Regions from separate parts of the Homo sapiens genome. Here region 2 is linked to region 1. Evidence: promoter capture Hi-C in human tissues and cell types (Jung and others, 2019). All regions are on one chromosome and are shown on one strand. The core of a region is centred on a gene start or on the middle of the fragment in contact, and the rest is flanking DNA. Distances in the headings are between cores, read along the strand shown.

Region 1 (2,719 bases), core at 133-2,632:
TGAGCTTTTCCAGTGATTGACTGCCACTCCCTCCCAGCCTTTCGGTTCTTTAAAATGAAAGATAAACCTCAGGACAACCAAGACCTGGGGAAAAGACAGTCTTTGGGAATGTAATTTGGAAGAATGGATCCAGAAAAACAACCAGGGGCTCTTAACTCTAGTTTCGGCAGGAGATCCCGAGTTACAGACCTGAGCTCGTAAACAAACGCTCACCACTTTACAGTCGCCGCCTCATCCTGAAACTCCGGTCAGAAATGCTGGAAGGCCTTTGCTAATGCGCAGTGAAAATTAGGGGCACAGATGTGGACGGACTGTGCTTGGTCAGTAATTGTTCTCCTCCAAATCAAGTTTATGAGAAATTTCATATAAGGAAAAAAACCCTTTTGTATCTGTGTCTATATGTACAGAAGACCTTAACAACCAAACAGAAACTTAACCCCTTTGGTTTGGTTTTGTTTTCGAAAGCTTATGCCCAATTTTAAACTTCATGTAAGCTTATGTACTTATTTTAAACTTTAAAACTATTAAAAGTTAAACTAGATAGTAAATTCGGCACTGTCTAATGTGCATACACCACAAACATATAACCCTAAATTCAGCTGTGTCTAATGTGTATACACCACACATATATATAACCCTAAATTCAGCCTGATGTACTTATACCACACATATATAACCCTAAATTCAGCCTAATGTACATATACCACACACACATATATATAACCCTAAATTCAGCCTAATGTACATACACCACACATATATATAACCCTAAATTCAGCCCTAATGTACATACACCACACATATATAACCCTAAATTCAGCCTAATGTACATACACCACACATATATATAACCCTAAATTCAGCCCTAATGTACATACACCACACATATAACCCTAAATTCACCCTAATGTACATACACCACACATATATATATGACCCTTACCTCTTGTTAGCATTTATTGTAGTTTGTTTTTGAGGTTAGGAGCAGTTAAGCAATAATATGAATTTGTGTTGGTTTAACTTTTATGAATTTTAGGGCAGAACAAGGAGTTAATTTCCAGATAAGCTTGTTCATGTTCTTAGAATAAAGTGTCAGCCTCATTAGAAGTTTTGTAATCGTGGTCTGCATCCCAGCCATGCACCTGCTGGGTCCTGAGTAATCCTCGGAGCCCAGAGCAAGGCAGAGCAGACACGGAGCAAACGCTGCGTTCAGCTGGGTATTTTAGATACGTCTGAGAAGAGTTTTAAAATAAAACTTGAATTTGAAAAGAAATAGTGAGTACTTACCAGAGGTGGGCAGTGCTGGGATGTGGCCGGTCTTGGTGCCGGTGGCTGGCGGTGCTCAGGAAGCAGTACCTGTTCTCACGCTTGCTGGGTGAAACTGGAGCCTGCTGTTCCAGTGGGAGGGATTTAAGTGTAGGAGTTGAGCCCTCGGGGCGTAGAGATGCACCTGATATTCCTCCTGCCCGCAGCTACGATTCATGTGTTTGCACCCACCGAGCTGCTGCGGGCAGCCTCCCCAGCACTGGACCCAGCAAGCAAGTTATCTCGCCGACTCCCAGCGCTGTCTCCAGACTCAACTGTCTGTGAGTGCGGCGTCGGTGCTGCCTGGACGGCCATATGTCAGAGGGCTTTCGATGTGTCCGCAGTTAGAATAGAGATTACTATATTCATCAGAATCACACCCGATGAATATTTGGCGTCATGATAAAGACATGTGAGACTTTCCTTTAGAACTTGAGCATGTGTACGCAGGAGGCAAACACTTGGATTGATTCTCAAGCGCGCATACCCTGGGAGGCACAGTATTCATGGCGTCCTTGCCATGAGGTCCAGTGAGGCCTTTGAGGATCTGTGGACCTTCCACCCTCTACCCTGCTCCTGAGAGTCTCTGTCCCTGGTCCTCCTCAGGAGCTGAGCCGGCAGGGAGGGAGCTTATCCCAGAGCCTGGCTGCAGGGACCTGCCGGAGCTTGCCCGACACCAGGCACCGCAAGAGCTGCGGAGCAGGGTGTGTGGGTGCGGGGGAGGGGGCCAGCTGTGCACTCCCGCAAACCACCCTCCCCCCACTTTAAATTGCAGAGGCACTTAACTTGGGGGCCAGTTTTTACCTCCACACCCCCCCACCAAAACTGCTTGCTTGCTTAATCGGAGGCCGCACCCCAGTTGTAGCGAAGGCTGGCATGTGGTGTCGGTTTGAGGACTGGGAAAGGAGGTGGGATGAGCTGGTGTCAGGCCCTTGGATGAGCCTGAGGCTGCAGGGCAGAGGCTGCAGGGCTGTGGCATAGGGACGAGCTGGCCAGGACAGACAAACTGGTTTTTTTTTTTTTTTTTTTTTTTTTTTTTGAGACAGAGTTTCACTGTTGCTGCCCAGGCTGGAGTGCAATGGCATGATCTTGGCTCACTGCGTTTCTCCTGCCTCAGCCTCCCGAGTAGCTGGGACTACAGGCGCCTGCCACCACGCCCGGCTAATTTTTTGTATTTTTAGTAGAGATGGGGTTTCACCGTGTTAGCCAGGATGGTCTTGATCTCCTGACCTTGTGATCCACCCACGTCGGCCTCCCAAAGTGCTTGGATTACAGGTGTGAGCCACTGCACCCGGTCTGTTTTTTTGTTTTTGTTATTTTTTTCCTTAAGACTTAAGATTTTACATGGCTTTGCGTTTACTTTTATATTTAATTCCTTTTTTTTTTCTTTTGAGACAGGGTCTTGCCCTGTCAC
Region 2 (2,719 bases), core at 64-2,563, 40 kb before region 1:
TTTGTCACTTTCCTAGTCCTTTGATAAAGAGGGATTGCTGCCAGGGGTCTCGTGAGGGAGGTCTGGGCAAAGCCCGTGTCATGATCTGAGGTTGGACCTGGCTTCTTGGGGCCCAGGAGCAGCCATGTTCCTCTGATAGCCACAGCCACCACCTCTTTTGCCTTCTTCCTAATTCTCTTAATTTATTCTTTTTGAGACTGCATCTTACTGTGTCGCCCAGGCTGGAATACATGACACAGCTCACTGCAGCTTCGACCTCCTGGGCTCAAGCCATCCTCCCACCTCAGCCCCCTGAGTGGCTGGGACTACAGGCGAGCTCTACCACGCCCGGCTAATTTTTTTAGCAGTGGGGTCTTGCTGTGCTGTCCAGGCTGGTCTTGAACTCCTGGGCTCAAGTGATCTGCCCTGCCTTGGCCTCCCAAAGTGCTGGGCTTAAAGGTATGAGCCACCACGCCTGGCTCAATTCTCTTAATTTTAGATTGAGCCTCAATTTCTGAAAATAAGGGCAGTGTTTTTCTCCACGCAGAGGTTTACCATCTGGAAAAAGAGAAACTTCTTAGAGCCTTTGTGTGTTTTAGAAGCTATCCGGACTGGGCGTTGTGGCTCACGCCTGTAATCCCAGCGCTTTGGGAGGCTGAGGCGGGTGGATCACGAGGTCAGGAGATCGAGACCAGCCTGGCCAACATAGTGAAACCCCATCTCTACTAAAAATACAAAAATTAGCTGGGCATGGTGGCACATGCCTGTAATCCCAGCTACTCGGGAGGCGGAGGCAGGAGAATCCCTTGAGCCAGGGAGTTGGAGGTTGCAGTGAGCTGAGATCGCGCCACAGCACTCTAGCCTGGCGACAGAGCAAGACTCTGTCTCAAAAAAAAAAAAAAAAAAAAAAGAAACTATCCGAATATCAAATTTGAATAACTTTCTTTTTTTGAAAGTTTTTCATTATGGAAAATTTGAAACATGTATAAAGAAGAGAGAATGGCGTGCACGCCCCGTGTCTCTCTCAGGAGTGTGCGAGTTTTCGTGTGCAGCCTGTTTCATCCCTGCACCGCACAGGAGGGACACACAGTGCCATCTCACCTGTGTGTACTTCCATACATGTCTCTGGAAGGTGGGGCTCTTTATGTCCTCACCACACCCGAGAACGCGAGCAGCCGTTGCCAGGCCCTGTCGGCGGGAGGAGCGTCCTTGGTGACGTGAACACAGACCTCCCTCTTGGGCTGTCGTGCTTGTCACCCACGCTCATTGTGCCCACTGTCAGAGCCTTCTGAGAAGTTACTCAGATGCTCTTTCAGCTGACCTGGTTTTATAGGCAAGCATTATGAGTTAAACGGCACCTCTGCCCGAGGTCACGGCACCCACATAAAACTGGTGAACGTTCACTTTCTGTCATTTCCCAGCCTCAAGGCAGAGCTTCCTGCAGGGCACTGCAGCTCCAGCCCCCATCCCCCTGCTCTGTCCCCGCCCCACTGCCCCTTCCTCCATCTCCTTGTCTTCCATCACCTCACCTAACTCTCAGCTCTGTCTTCAGCTTCTCTTCTTTTCTCCTGTCCCCTGTCAGTTGGTTGCAGTCTTGTCCATTTCACTTCCAGCCCATCTCTGAAGCCGCCATGCACTTCCACCCCAGCCCTTGTCTGTCCCGGGAATGCTGTCCTCCTGGCCTCAGCTTGCCCTCGTCGCAGCACCCGGGCGTCTCCTGCTCGCAGGCTCTCCCTGTCGTGCTGTGCCCAGTGCTACCTTGAGCCTCCCCTTGGCTCAGCCTCCTGTCCTGCTATTGTCATCACTGCATGACACCGAGTGATTCCCCCTGAAAAACAGAGCAAGCCACAGGAACCCCGTGGCCTGTGTGTTCTCCCCAGCCGCAGTGTGCTCCATGGCTTCTGGGGTTGCTGCAGTGTGCCCTGTGGCCTGTGTGTTCTCCCCGGCCACAGCATGCCCGTGGCCTGCGTGGTCTCTGTGGCCGCAGGATGCCCGTGGCCTGTGGGGTCTCCGTGGCTGCAGTGTGCCTGTGGTCGGTTGGGCCTTTGTGTGTGCTGCCCCCCTTCAGATTGGCTCCCTGCCCTCTGAGTACTTGCTCTCCTGACCTCCACTGATGTTGCTTCACAGCAAGGAAGTCGAGTAGGTTCAACTCCAGCAGCTCTTGGTTCATGATTTGGGATGATGGGGGTCTTGGTGATGTCTCCTGCCTCAAGGCCCCTGTGGAGCCGGCTGTTGGTTTCGGGGACACAGGTGGTGCAGTCAGAAGATGCCTGCAGCCCTTCCTGCGCTGAGTCCAGTTCTTGTTTGCAGCTGCCACTGTCCTCAGGTGCCTCGATGGCTGCAGACTCCCTGAGAGCAACCAGACCCTGCTGCGGAAGCTGGGGGTGAAGCTTGTGCAGCGACTGGGGCTGACATTCCTGAAGCCGAAGGTGGCAGCATGGAGGTAGGCACCATGAGGGCGGTGCCTGGGGAGGGCCACGGGGTGGGGAGGGGTTGCTGTGGGGGGCAGGCGCCATTGATGAGGGCGGGGCAGGTGCTGTTGGGGCAGGTGCTGTGGGGAGGCAGTCGCCCTGTTGCGGGGTGGGGGAGGCAGGCGCCATGGGGTGGGGAGGCAGGCGCCTTGGTTCTGGACACAGTTGGGGGCACTCTCTGGAGGGCAGGCCGAGCCGTAGGTGAGCGTCTGGTGTGGCTGGTGCTGTGGCTTTTGTGTCCAGTGGTGATGGCAGAGAAGATGTGTTAG

The links. The method cuts DNA at HindIII sites, captures the fragments that hold promoters and counts their contacts. A contact is called where the count stands out against the background at its distance.
Region 2: a fragment that was not itself captured here is called in contact with the fragment with the promoter of ZNF750 in region 1 in 3 of the 25 tissues and cell types used here (dorsolateral prefrontal cortex, lymphoblastoid cells and spleen).

What each region holds. Positions count from the first base shown.
Region 1 is chr17:82,838,640-82,841,358 of GRCh38, forward strand. It overlaps ZNF750 (zinc finger protein 750), which reads right to left and starts at 1,383. Exons shown (of 3, transcript NM_024702.3): 1 at 1,288-1,383. The region is part of intron 13 of TBCD (tubulin folding cofactor D); the gene reads left to right. The HindIII fragment of the contact is 7,618 bases long and covers 781-2,719 here.
Region 2 is chr17:82,798,575-82,801,293 of GRCh38, forward strand. TBCD (tubulin folding cofactor D) reads left to right here. Exons shown (of 39, transcript NM_005993.5): 9 at 2,290-2,422. Among named protein-coding and RNA genes, the nearest start is that of ZNF750, 40 kb to the right of the region's middle. The HindIII fragment of the contact is 8,431 bases long and covers 1-2,719 here.